Regions from separate parts of the Homo sapiens genome. Here region 1 is linked to region 2. The links are contacts of gene promoters, found by promoter capture Hi-C in blood cells and fetal thymus (Javierre and others, 2016). All regions are on one chromosome and are shown on one strand. Each heading gives the region's core, a stretch centred on a gene start or on the middle of the fragment in contact. The rest is flanking DNA. Distances are from core to core; before and after follow the strand shown.

The links. The method cuts DNA at HindIII sites, captures the fragments that hold promoters and counts their contacts. A CHiCAGO score of 5 or more calls a contact.
Region 1: a contact is called between a fragment that was not itself captured here and the fragment with the promoter of TOP3A in region 2, in 1 of 17 cell types (erythroblasts). The highest score is 5.6, in erythroblasts.

The regions. Positions count from the first base shown.
Region 1 is chr17:16,538,471-16,545,280 of GRCh38, reverse strand. LOC105371554 (a long non-coding RNA gene) reads right to left here. Exons shown (of 4, transcript XR_007065637.1): 3 at 5,493-5,584; 4 at 1,195-4,628. Among named protein-coding and RNA genes, the nearest start is that of ZNF287, 27 kb to the left of the region's middle. The HindIII fragment of the contact is 2,009 bases long and covers 2,332-4,340 here.
Region 2 is chr17:18,308,735-18,316,281 of GRCh38, reverse strand. TOP3A (DNA topoisomerase III alpha) reads left to right here and starts at 1,288. Exons shown (of 19, transcript NM_004618.5): 1 at 1,288-1,683; 2 at 7,341-7,400. The coding sequence starts at 1,504. SMCR8 (SMCR8-C9orf72 complex subunit) reads right to left here and starts at 989. Exons shown (of 2, transcript NM_144775.3): 1 at 1-989. The coding sequence starts at 492. It also overlaps the pseudogene RPL7AP65 and the pseudogene RPL21P121. RefSeq lists enhancers at 929-978, 668-1,191, 1,319-1,668, 1,679-1,768, 1,716-2,239 and a silencer at 1,119-1,168. The HindIII fragment of the contact is 5,874 bases long and covers 1-4,025 here.

The sequences.
Region 1 (6,810 bases), core at 2,087-4,586, 1.8 Mb after region 2:
GAATTTGCAGGATAATTGCCCAGAACTAGCATATTGATTCAGATTTTTACATTACCCATCCCTTTTTATTTCTTCCAAACTGTAGGGGATTACCACTTGATTCACAGGAATAAGCAGAGTTAGTATAATATGTAGGCAAAAAGCTTAAAAACAATTGATGAGACTAGGATTTAATGAGAAATGTATAGTAAGTTTTGGAGAAATGTATGATAAGCTTTGGAGCACAGTTTTTCTCTCCAGTCCTCATTTTTGATAAAAACAAATTATGATAGGCCCGTGTGTGTTGTCTGTAGAATAAACTTTAGTCCTATACATGGCCTGATTGTTTGCATAAAGTGCAGCAAGAAAGGTTATTTCTACACAGGCCTTTTGGATTGGCTTCGATGAAACTGTTCTACAAGGAATCTCAGATAAGACCTTTTAAAGCCAAGCCCAGCCATGGGTTTGTATCCTCAAATACCTGTGAGTTGGGTGATCCTCTCCTCTTGAGGCCCCAAGATAAACTCGGAGCTCCCAGACCTATTAGAAAGTGACACTCTTTACTGACCACAGGTTAGGAATCTTGTGCAGGGACTGTGCAGACAAGGTATGAGGCCAGTTCTCCCCAAGGGGCTTTTATTTGCTCTGCATGTCAAGCTTGATTCCTTAAAAGGAAACACACCCTCAAGCCTTGGTTAAAATAACCAGTTTTTCCAATGTGTCCTGTTGACAAAGAAAAATGGATTCTTATTGCACTGATGCAAAGAGCTATATTGCCGTTAAGTTAAGAGTACAGCTAGTCTCCAAATTCTAGAGGAACCAGGCAGAGACAAATAAATATGCTCCAAATTTTGTTCACAGGAGTATACCTTACTCAATTATTAAAGGCCATAAATAGTTTAAAACTTTTCTTGACTCTGAAAAACAAAACAAGGATCAGCAATATTCCAAGCAAAGTTAAAAACTCTGCTTTAACTTTCTGAGTGCAGTCCATTTACTTAACTCTTGTTTTGCTTGATATTTATGAACATATTAGTTCTTTGTGAGTCCCATACATTCTCTCTCTATTCCAATGTTACAATCTTTAAAGCTATTAAAAACCTGCATTTGAGAACACCTGTTGAACTCCTTAATAGAGCTTGATTATAAACCATTTTTTGAAAAGGAACAAAGCAGGACAACAATTGTCTGTGAATGACAAAATTTTCAGGATAGTTAAAAACATGACTGACAAAGAAGTTTATTTATCTTCATGGTTTACAATAACTTTACCCTTAATTATGATTGATAGCATATACTTAGACATTAGAATCTTAGAAATCCCATACAATTCTGAAACATATATTAGTATTATTCACCAAACTATAACTTAAATAAGATTGGACATCATTTTGGCAATCTCATGTGACTAAACATGTCAAATAATCCTGTTTACCTCTTTTCTGAATGTTTCAGGGCCCCTCTAAACCATTCAAAAAGTTAGGTATCAGGAAGGACAATTTCCAGATTGCCATAAATTATTTTGCCAAAATGATGACTCAAAAGGCAAAATCCTTTCATTAGCCTTTATTATGAAATGAAAATCTTGTTCAAAGCAAAATTTTACCCTTGCATTAGTTTATTAATGTTAACCCCAATTTGTTTACACGAAACCTTATAGATTATTCCATCAAATCCTAACCAATTTGACCATGAGGTGAAATCTTTTTTTTTCTTTTTTTTTTGAGATGGAGTTTCATTCTTGTTGCACAGGCTAGAGTGCAAGGGCATGATCTCAGCTCACTGCAACCTCCGCCTCCCAGGTTCAAGCGATTCTCCTGCCTCAGCCTCCCAAGTAGCTGGGATTACAGGCATGTGCCACCACCCCTGGCTAATTTTGTATTTTTAGTAGAAACGGGGCTTCTCCATGTTTGTCAGCCTGGTCTCGAACTCCCGACCTCAGGTGATCTGCCCGCCTCGGCCTCCCAAAGTGCTGGGGTTACAGGTGTGAGCCACCGCACCCGGCCAAGGTGAAATCTTTACAAACCTTTTATAACCCTTTTACTAAGGGGCAGATTAGTGTCTTAAGACCTCCTTGCTATGCTTTTATTTTAATGCTTAATTTATGAAAAGACCATATAGATACTATGGGAGAGGACGGTGTAGTGCTTCTACCATGCATTGCATTGCAAGGCAGCCCAAAGCCAATTGGCTTATTTTGTAATTAGCCCATCCCTGATGGGAGTCTCATCTCCCAGTGCAGGGTGAGGATGTTTCCTTATCTTCCAGGTGGCCAAGAGCATCCCTGATTTATAACTACTATTAGCCATCCCTTACAGTGTATTTTCTACTTGATTATTACACACCAAAGCTTTCTTGTAAAAATGCGAAGTAATTTCTGATACCCCCAAAACTCAAAACCATCAGATAACACAATGCAAAACAGAACAGAGCCTTTGATTTTGAGAGGGAATTATTTGCTTTTAATTCCTGGGGTTTCATGAGGAAAACAGAGGGTTTTTTCCCAAAACGGGGTCTGTGGCGCCTCCTCTGTGTTTCCTGAGGAGTCCCATGCTACCAGAAGTTATCTTAGGGCCTTTTATACATGCATTAAGAGTAGTAAGACAAAAAATGGAGAAAAATAATTCAGTCGGCTGAGATGAGCCTTTTTCCAGAAAAACAAGATTCAAGAAAAGAAAAAACATAAAGGCCTTTTAATATACCTATAACTTGATTTTCCACTTTTAATTAAGCTGAGCACTCTTTAAGAAAATTCTTCTAAATCCTTTGTTACTTGACCTTAGCCATGCCAAGCAGTTAAGATTTTTGGCTTTTGAACTTTACAATAAGTAACCTCACAGGTAAAACTAAAGAGCTTTAATTAGGTTATGACTTAACCAGGAGTGTAAAAGGTATTTTTAAAGGAGTGACAGGCAGCTTTTTTTTTTTTTTTTTTTTTTTGCTGAGACAGAGTCTTGCTCTGTCACCCAGGCTGGAGTGCAGTAGCATGATCTTGGCTCACTGCAACCTCTGCCTCCTGGGTTCAAGCAATTCCTCTGCCTCAGCTTCCTGAGTAGCCAGGACTACAGGTGCATGCCACCACGCCTGGCTAATTTTTGTTTTTTTAGTAGAGACAGGGTTTCGTCATGTTGACTAGGCTGGTCTTGAACTCCTGACCTCGTGATCCACCCGGACAGGCAGCTTTTGAAACTGTCACTGCAAAATTGTGACTGAGACAGTGGAAGAGATCTCACCCAAACAACTCCATTTTGTTTCCAGTCCCCAAACTGTCCTTGCCCATCCCCGGGCATAGGCTGAATCAAGTTGGGGAGGAGCTTGGTTTACAGTTTATAGTCTAAAACAAAGAAGATAGCAGCTGCTTCTCAAGATATACTTCCCTTTTGCCTGGGGACCAGACCAAGAAACTAGCTACAGGATTAGAAACCATGGCCCAAGAGCCATGCAATTGGAGGCTACAAGATTTTGACCCTCCCTAAACGGCTGTTATGATCAGTGCTTAAGATGTTTTGTAAACCCTGCCCTTGATGGATCAGCTGACACAGCCCAGACTGACAAACTGGCTTATCTGATTTAGCACAAGAAGACAGCCACCATTGTAAAATGGCGGAGACAAAAACAAAGTATTGCCACATGGTTACAGATTATGTTCCCATGACATGAAACAAGATGGAGGCCTGTAGCCAAGTTTGCCACTGGATACTTTGCTGGGCTGGTTTGAACAGCAGGCTTATGGGTTTCTGGGCCTGCATCCTGACCTAAGATACCTTTTCTTTAACAGAACCACACAGAAAGACATACAAAGAAGAGCAGATTGTTTACAGCTTAAGACCAACCTCACAAATCCTTTTTCATTAACTATAAATTTAAAGAAAACATAAACAATGATCTTTATTATCCCTTTTGCCGGTTTCCACAGGAAGAGAGAAGCCAAAAGCCTGACTGGTAAGAAATTTTTACCCTTTTGCCAGCATATCAGGCTTCTGGGCTGGGTTTCCTTCCCCCTAGCTCAACTCTATGCCAAACATTTTAAGGTTTGGAAAATTAACCTTTTCCATGTTGGAAGAACATTATAAAAGAGAAGCCATTTTAAACTGCAAAACAAGGAAAAACACCACAGAAAGGAGTTCCAATTAGGGTTGTCAGGAGGTATTGCCTCTTTTCCTATTGGGAATGGTGTTTCCCCTTTGCCTTCCCTATTTTTTTCTTTTCCCTTTTGGCCTTCTATAGGAGACATTACTTATCTCCAAAATTTTCTTCTGCTTGCAGAGCTGCTTATTTTACCTACAGTAAGGGTTTGCCTTAGCAGCAACATAACATCCCTTCATGAGAGGTTACATACCTGAGTTAAATATTGGAAAGCTTCCATATACTTATTAAGGTCATCAGAAAACCAGCCTAAGTCTCCCTTTACTTGCCAAAGGTCCTGCAATGAGAAGGGAACTTGAAGGGGCCCCAAATAAGGGGGACCCTCAGATGACTTCCCTGAAAGTTACTTTTTAAATTTTGGGGTACTGTTTTCCCTGGGCCTGCCTGATATGACTGCAAAAGAAAATAAGCCACTTTTTCTTCAAAGTTTCAAGGTCGAAAGAGTCCTAGTGCTTCAAAATACACTCAAGAGAAGTGCATGTTGAAGATGGTCTGTTACCCATCTAGAAAGAGAAGTGAGAATAAAAGCGTCCTTTTAGTCTCCTTCCTTTTGGTATGAAATCCAGGATGGAGAAGAAAGCAGTAGGAGGCGTCCCCCAACTATTTTCTCTTTTGTTCCTGGATTCCCAGCACTCATTTAAATGTTCCACCCATGACTGCAGGTGTGACCCTCCAAGCCATGGCACCAGAGGATCTGAGTTTTGGGCCATAGTCACGCTGTTCCCAAGCAATCAGTTCTCTGCCTTTTATTTACCTTTGACCTCCTAGACTTGGGTGGCCTGTGTGCCTCCCAAAAAATGGATTTGAAGAAAAACCATGTAATTGGGAAGAGACCCTTTAAGGGAGGGGATGTGATAGATTGAACTCTATATCCTGCCATTATAGCCCATGCTAAAGCATTTACCCATAGAAGAATGGTTCCGGTTAACTTCTGGACTTAAAATCCCCTTACTAATTAAGCACTGTCTTAGTAGGAGCCAGAATAGATGGCTTAAAGGAACATAGGAACTGAATGGCCGTTTTCCTGCCAGTGGGACAATATTGAGACTAAAATTTGGCCATGGAAGACATCCTACTCCTAACTGTTAAAAGCAGAAACTTCCCATTCTTAGAAGAGGCCTACAGCCTGATTTCTACTAGGTGGCTTAGAAATACCATGTGCTTGCCAGAGAAAACGTAGAGAGAGAGAGAGACACTTATTGAGTTACTGCATGCCGTGATTCACGATCTTTTCTAACAGACAGAATCCTGCACATTAGACACACAGAGAGACCACAGATAGAAAGAAAGTTTTGGCGACAGGGTAGCTGGAAGAGAGCCTTGAGACTAAAGAACAGATATAAAGTTGAAATCCGCTCCATACTCACCAGTCTCATGATTGAATTTCCTTTCCTGGCCAATGCACCAAAATGATACGGCTCCGATGAGTGGAGGAACACCAGGGTTCTTGGTCCTCATGCTGGTTTAGATAAAACAACATGGACATATGTGGAGTGGTTTTAAGGGGCAGATAGTTTAATAGGCAAGAAGAGGAAAGAAAGAAGGGAGAAGGAAGAAATAAGCACCTCCCTTGTACAGAGACGGGGGTGGTGGGAGGCTCCAAAGCCAAAAGAGGTCCCCCTCCCATACAGTTTCTTAAATTCAAATGTTTAAATGAGAACATCTCAATTCAGGATGCACCTCCTCCTACCAATTTTTCACTCAGATCTATCCCAAGTTTCAAAGCCATATAGTCAGTGATCACTCAGAACTATCTCATAAGTACCTTATGTGGTTTAACCTAAAACTAAATTGTTTTCATCCCCAAACCTCTTCTTTCTAAATTTATTATAACTTTGACAGGGGAGCTAGGAGCCACTCTCTTATTCACCAATAATCATTTTAGTCCTATTGGTCTTACAAGAAAGTTGGCTGTTTCATGCCTACAAGAGTAGAGGTTTTTTCTTGAAGAACAATTTTGGGCCATATCAAAATAAGATCTGCATCCAGAAATTGAAAAGTAATGCTCTCCACTGTAAACTGATTTTAAACTATACCTGGAATATTCATGCTGAGCACTATATTTTACATTAGAGTCATCCCTCATTATTGGTTCCAGGATTGGTTCTAGGACTCCCATGGATACCAAAATCCTTGGATGCTCAAGTAGCTGATATAAAAATGGCATAGTATTTGCATATAACTGATGTACATTCTCCCAAATACTTTAAATCATCTCTAGATTACTTATAATACCTAATACAATGTAAATACCATGTAGATAGTTTTACATTTTCTATTGCATTATTTTGAGGGTTTTCTGCTCAATATTTCCAATCTGTGGTTGGGTGAAATGCAGAACATGGCCAGGCACCGTGGCTCACGCCTGTAATCCCAGCACTTTGGGAGGCCGAGGTGGGCGGATCACGAGGTCAGGAGATCGAGACCATCCTGGCCAACACGGTGAAACCCCGTCTCTACTAAAATACAAAAAATTAGCCGGACATGGTGGCACACGTGCCTGTAGTGCTAGCTACTCGGAAGGCTGAGGCAGGAGAATCACTTGAACCCAGGAGGAGGAGGTTGCAGTGAGCCGAGATCACGCCACCGCACTCCAGCCTGGGGTGACACAGTGAGACTGAGTCTCAAAAAAATAAAAATAAAAATAAAAACCAGAAAGGCACTAAGAGATGCATAATAGGCAAG
Region 2 (7,547 bases), core at 39-2,538:
TTTATGCTGGTCTGCAGAGATATAAGCCATGCAAAACGGCCTCACGAAGCCACGGGCCTCCAGGTCGTATAGGGTAAGGTGGTGCACGTATGCAAAGGCGCCCTCCTTAGAATCTCCCAGCACCACCTTGGAGTCCTCCACGAAGTTCAGCTTGGGGTAGGCAGATCCAGGAGGATGGCCCACGAAGGAAGCCTGGTAATCCACAGACATGATACGCAGGGAGAAGTAATTGAGATCAAAAGTGCCAAAAACTTTGGTGTCATTGGGGATGGTCAGTAAGGGTTGGGGTCCCACCTGCTCAGAGAACTCGGAAATAAGAATGAAGTCCCTCGAAAACTTGGCCCCGGACAGTTTTGACCAGGGGTTAGCACCCTGACTGGCGAAGGGGAAGAGCGGCACCGAGTACTCCTCAGGCAGGGCCGGCTCATTGTAAGGCTCTTCTTCATACTCTTCCTCTTTGGTGAAGGCCACTACGTCAGGGGCGCTGATCATATTTCCAGATATATGAAGAAAACATTGAGAGGAAGTGGGAAAGAATGCGGTGTTAATCGACGCGCAGAAGGCAGGCCTCCGGAGAAGGAAGTGAAGCCCTTACGGCCTTCTTTGCGACTCCCCGAACCCGGGGTCCTAGGCTGCTTCTCACACACCCGAGGAGAAGAACTCTAGCAGCCCCCTCACAGTTGTAGCTCCTCCGGAGCTCTCTGAGGCCTCATGAACGCCAAGGCCGCAGGCCCAACTGCCCTTCTCTTCTTCGTCCGGCGAGCGCGGCCAGCACAAGAAACCTGCTGCGAAATCACCTGCACTCTCCGGAACCCACTGCGACAGCAAAAGCCCCCGCTCTGAACAAGGCTTAACGCGAGGCTACGGGACGCCGCAGGGGTCAGCCAAGCGCTGCTGCCCCTCACTGCCCGAGGGCAGAAACCGTCGCGGCTCCTAGGACGCCACAACCCGGATCCTGCTACCGCGGCGCCGCCATCTTGACATCACATGACTCCTGGTGTCCGCGCCGCGTGACCCGGAAGCGTCCTCGTAGACTTCCGAGCAGGAGATTAAAAAGTCATGAGAAAGAGGCCTTGGATGGGAGTGTCTGGCGGCTCCCCGCAAGAAGGAGTCCGATTAACCAACCACTGCCGGGAAGGAGGGGAAAGAGGGGCGGAGTGAGACGGGGGCGGCGGGAAGGTGGCAGAGGGGAACGTGCTTGGACGAGGGGCGCGGGACAGTCTGGGAGTTGTAGTTCCAGGTCGCTGTGGGGCGCGCGCCTGGCGGAAGTAGCTGGAGAAGGCGGGCGGAAGTTCCACGCCAAGATACTGGATTCGGTGCTGAGGCGGCGGCTGCGGCACGGGAAAGGCTCAGTGACTGAAGCTCCAAAGGCCAGCAGGCTGGTGGGGACGTGACCGAAGCGAGGCTCTGGTTCCCTTTCGGTGGGCGCCATTTGAGCCTCATCTCTGGCTTCCCCAGGATGCGCCGGCAGCCGGGGAGCGGCTCCGGGCGCGAGGTCTGAGGATGATCTTTCCTGTCGCCCGCTACGCGCTCCGGTGGCTGCGACGGCCCGAAGACCGTGCCTTTTCCCGCGCCGCCATGGAGATGGCCCTCCGAGGCGTGCGGAAAGTCCTCTGTGTGGCCGAAAAAAACGACGCGGCCAAGGGGATCGCCGACCTGCTGTCAAACGGTCGCATGAGGCGGGTAAGAAAGCGCGTTCCGATCAGCTGCGTGCCTTAAGGGAGGCCCACCGAGCGGGACAGCGTGGTGGGCGCCAAGAATCGAGATGAAGGCGATTATCTCCCATTTCTCAGGCCTCACTGCCCCTCGTCTGGATTATTGCAGTGGCCTCCTGTCTGCTCTCGGACTGGAGTGCATTTTAAAACGTAGTTGATACATCTCACTCATTTGCGTGGAAACCTTTTGTTTTGCTTGCGCTTAGCAGGTTCCCAAACTTGTCTGATTCTCGGAATCGCCTCGGGCGCTGGCTGCCCTTCGGGTCTTGTGTGAGGCTGGGGAAGTGTGTATTTTACTGTTTTTCCCTAGAGATTCAGAAATTCATTTGGGAACTACTGACCAGATTCCCTTAACTTGGCATTCAAGCCCTGCCCGATCGTTCCCCAGCCAACCTAGCCCTCCCCATCCTGTGCCACAGCCACTGCATTCTACAGCCCTTGTGACTTTCCAGCCTCACAGTGCACACTTACAGCAACACGGTAAGGTTTGGGGATTAGATTTGAAGTCAGCCCTGTTCCTACCCGAATGAACTGATTCTGAGAGAGGTAAGTGGTAAGAATGTGTTCTACACACACGGGAGGCACAAACGCAAGGGAGGATAAGAAAAAGTTTCATAAAGGAGGTGCCACGGGAGACATAAAGAGCTGTCCAGGAAAATATCTCAGATAACAAAAGTAGATCCTGAAATGGTTTTCTGGAGAACTTTTCTAAGAGCATGGGTGGAAGTTCCCTGCTCATTTTTCTTTAGTTCCCAGGGTCCTAAGACCTGTTTCCAGATCAAGGATAGTGGGAGTGGAGCCAGGGTTGTGTGAATGCTGGCTGACAGCTTTACCTGTTTCCAGTGCTAGAAGTCCTGGTGACCAGCCCCAAGGTTTGTCTACTTCTAGACAATGAAGTAGACATTGAAAAATGGTTCTCCTACGCCTAACTTCTTATCCTTCAAGGCTCTGCTGAATTCATTCTCTCTCTCTCCCTTTTTTTTTTTTTTTTTTAAGCAATCCAGAGGTCTTGTATTTATCTATTTTTACCCTATCATACCATGAATCCATAGGGAATAGGTTCCAGCGGCTCAGGCTCTTTTCCATTGGTTCTCACAAAGTGTACTTCCCTCAATGGAACAGGCTGGCACTTCAGGTGAACCCTTTCTCTTTGACTTGCTTCTTTTTTGATCATTTTCCTTCACACATTTCAGGAAAGATCTTGGTTCTTAGAGTGCTTAATATGCTCAATAGAAACATTAATTCTTTGGGCAAGAATCTAGCCCTTGTTCGCAGCAGTGCCAACAGCATGCTGGGTAACATAGACTTTTCCAGTTCTGCCATGTAACATTTGTGGGTCATTCCCTTTTGAACAGTATGCATTCTCACGAAGTCCTCAATATCACCTTCATTGTAGATTCTGGTGTCTGTGGCCAGAGAAACTCCATATTTTTGTTTTGTTTTGTTTGTTTGTTTTGAGATGGAGCTTTGCTCTTGTTGCCCAGCCTGGAGTGCAATGGTGTGATCTCAGCTCACTGCAACCTCCGCCTCCCGGGTTCAAGCGATTCTCCTGCCTCAGCCTCCCTAGTAGCTGGGATTACAGGTGCCTGTCACCATGCCCAGCTAATTTTTTGTATTTTTAGTAGTTTCACTGTGTTGGCCAGGATGGTCTTGAACTCCTGACTTCAGGTGAGCCACCCGCCTTAGCCTCCCAAAGTGTTAGGGTTACAGGCGTGAGCCACCGTGCCCAGCTCGAACTCCATGTTTTCTATAAGGCCAGGAGAACATACATCAGATGCCTCGTCCTCTTTTCCTTTGTGTTCGTCATTTTGGCAAATTACTCCAAGATGGCAGTTCCAGCCAAAAGGAAAGACTTTTCTTGGAAAGAGAATTTTTATTTTTATGTACAGAAAACACAACAGTGTGTACTTAACCCAGTTTAGTGGCAAATTCTTTAGCCTTTGCCTTTTCTAGGTTGGTAATGCAAGCTACAGATTTTGGACCCAGGGCATTGCCTCCCCAGTGACAGCAGATCTCATATGTCGTTGTAATTTGTCCCACCAGCTTAGCCAGAGCTCCTTTGTCTACCAGAAAGTTAACCTTTGTGAAGGTGACAGTGGTGCAGGTCTTCCTGTGGAATTTGACACCACAGTCTTGACGGTGCAGTAGAGAATCCCCATCTTAGGACACAGCACAGGCAGGAAGACAACCAGCTCAATGGGATCCACCACCAGCTGACCCTTCATGCTCTCTACCAAGTTGGTGACGGTGTCAACCCCTGCTCGAAGTGTAGGTGGTCTCTTAGTAGCGACATCCCCTTTGCTGGAAGCTTTCTTCTCAGCCTGGGCCAACGGTTTCGATCTCATCCCTTGCTCTGTCTCTTGTCTGTACTGTGGGCCAGCTTAAGCAATTGAGTAGCTTAAGTTTGGTAGTCTGAGGCCTGGGTGAACTGGTCAATCCCAGGTGGCACATCAGCCACTTATAGAGTACAGCGGCTCTGCCGCAGCAGCCATTTATAGCGGGACTATTTGACAAAGTGGGTGAGGCCCTTAGGCTAGATATCCAATGCCAAAATTATTAGGGCTTTTCTCAAATGGGATTTACCACCTTTTTGGCCTACTGCTGCTCCATGACAACAGGGGCCAGGGCCACTTCTTCCCCTTGGCCATCTTTCCTTTTGGCATCTGGGGCGGCTAGAGGAGAGAGGCTGCTGAAATGTCTCATCTTCAAGGAATCCTTCCCTCACCACCTGTTCCCCCACACTAGGTCAGAGACCCTTACTGACATGCTGTCATAGCACTCTATTCTACTTGAAAGGCATCTACTAGTTACAGTTAAATAATGGGATGTGCGATCATTTATTTGATTTTTGTCACTGCCTCTCCTTGGACTCTAAACTCCAAAGGACAGTGATTATATTTTGTTAATTGCTATGTCCTAACGCCTAATATGGTGTCTGGAATGCAGGAAACTTTCAATAAATATTAATACTTGGGCTGAGCGCAGCGGCTCATGCCTGTAATCCCAGCAGTTGGGGAGGCTCAAGCGGGCAGACCACCTGAGGTCGTGAGTTCAAGACCAGCCTGGCCAACATGGCAAAACCCCATCTCTACTAAAAATACAAAAATTAGCCAGGTGTGGTGGCGGGGTCCTGTAATCCCAGCTACTCACGAGGCTGAGGCAGGAGAATCGCTTCAACCCGGGAAGTGGAGCTTGCAGTGAGCCTAGATTGCGCCATTACATTACAGCCTGGGCGACAGAGTGAGACTCCATCTCAAAAAAAAATTAGGCCAGGCATGGTGGCTCATACCTGTAATCCCAGCACTCTGGGAGGCTGAGGTGGGCGGATCATGAGGTCAAGAGATTGAGACCATCCTGGCTAACACGGTGAAACCCTGTCTCTACTAAAAATACAAAAAATTAGCCGGGCATGCTGGCAGACGCCTGTAGTCCCAGCTACTCGGGAGGCTGAGGCAGCAGAATGGCATGAACCCGGGAGGTGGAGCTTGCAGTGAGCCGAGATTGTGCCACTGCACTCCAGCCTGGGCAACAGAGTGAGACTCTGTCTCAAAAAAAAAAAAAAAAATTCATAGTTGTTGAATGCATGTTTGAGCTGAGCCTGAAAGTTTTACCAGGCAGTAGAAACTGTAAAGAACAACCTAGTGGCTTGAAACTGCTTGGCATATTCAGAAACAGTGAGAAGTTAGGGGTGTGGTGTGGTGGGAAGAGACACCGATGAGTTAAGCAAGAGCAGCAGTTGAGTGCAGATCATAAGAATCTTAGAGAGCCATGTAGGTTGAGTGGTAAAATGCACAGAAAATTGACCATTTTAATCATTTTGAAGTATATAGTTCAGTGGAATTTTGTCCACTAAATGTGCCACCATCATCATTATCTAGTTCCAGAAGGTTTTTTTTCACCCCAAGAGGAAGCCTCATATCCATTAAGCAGTCACTCCCCTTACCCTCTCCTCAGCCCCTCACAACCACGAATCTGCCTTCTTTCCCCATGGATTTGCCTGTTCTGGGCATTTCCTATAAGTGGACCCATATCTTACATGCTCTTTTGTGTCAGGTTTCTTTCACTTAACATAATCTTGAAGTCCATCCATGTTGTACCATGTATTAATATCAGTTCTTCATTCCTTTTTTTTGGTTTTTGAGAAGGAGTCTCTCTCACTGTCGCTCAGGCTGGAGTGCAGTGATGAGATCTCGGCTCATTGTAACCACCGCCTCCCAGGTTCAAGCGATTCTCCTGCCTCAGCCTCCCAAGTAGCTGGGATTACAGGCACCCACCACCACGCCCAGCTAATTTTTTGTATTTTTAGTAGAGACAGGGTTTCACTATGTTGGCCAGGCTGGTCTCAAACTCCTGACCTCATGATCCGCCCACCTCAGCCTCCCAAAGTGCTGGAATTACAGGCATGAGCCATTGCACCTGGCCTCTTCATTCCTTTTTATGGCTGAATAATATTCTATCATATGGATAGATCATATTTCATTTTACCATACATCAGTTGATGGACATTTGGGTTGTTTTCATCTTTTGACTATTGTGAATAGAACTTCTATAGACATTCGCTGGGCGTGGTGGCTCACACCTGTAATCCCAGCACTTTGGGAGGCCGAGGCAGGTGGATCACGAGGTCAGGAGATTGAGAACATTCTGGCTAACACGGTGAAACCCCATCTCTACTAAAAATACAAAAAAATTAGCCGGGCGTGGTGGCAGGTGCCTGTAGTCCCAGCTACTCGGGAGGCTGAGGCAGGAGAATGGTGTGAACCCGGGAGGTGGAGCTTGCAGTGAGCCGAGATCACGCCACTGGACTCCAGCCTGGGCGACAGAGCCAGACTCCATCTCAAAAAAAAAAAAAAAAAAGAACTTCTATAGACTTTCATGTACAAGTTTTTGTTTGAATGTGTTTTTTTGTTTGTTTTTTGTTTTTTGAGACAGTCTCGCTCTGTCACCCAGGCTAGAGTGCAGTGGCGCCATCTCCACTCACTGCAACGTCCACCTCCTGGGCTCAAGTGATTCTCCTGCCTCAGCCTCCCCAAGTAACTGGGATTACAGGCACACACCACCACACCTGGCCAATTGTTGTATTTTTAGTAGAGATGGGGTTTCACCATGTTGGCCAGGCTGGTCTCGGACTCCTGACCTAAAGTGATCCAACTGTCTCAGCCTCCCAAAGTGTATTTGAATGCGTTTTTAATTCTTTTGGGTAAATTTGTAGGAGTGGAATTGCTGTGACATGTGATAACTCTGTAACTTTTTGAGGAAACACCAACATTTTCCAGAGTGGCCAAAGCATTTTACATTTCCACTGACAATGTCCAATTTCTCCACATCCTCAACAACACTTGTTATTTTACTTGTTTTTTTTATTATTCTATTTAATTATTATCCTAATGGGTATGGAGTGGTACCTCATCATGGTTTTGATTTGTGTTTTCCTAATGATTAATAACATTGAGCATCTTTTCATATGCTTGTTGGCCATTTCTTATCTTCTTTGGAGCAATGTTGGTTATATTTTTGGTATCATAACCAAGAAATCATTGCCAAATTCAGGATCAGAAAGAATTATACAAAGGAATCCATTGTTTTAAACGTAATTTATATTTTTTACTTATTTTTGTTTTATAGAGAGAAGGACTTTCAAAATTCAACAAGATCTATGAATTTGATTATCATCTGTATGGCCAGGTAGGTGCTAAAATATTTCTAAAATATTTCAATCATAAGCAAGAGAAAGTAGTCAGCCTCGTCATATGTAGAATATGTCGCTGTCTTAAGAATAACAACTGTTAACAACCTAAAGGTTCCTGGATATGGGGTGATCACTTTATAATT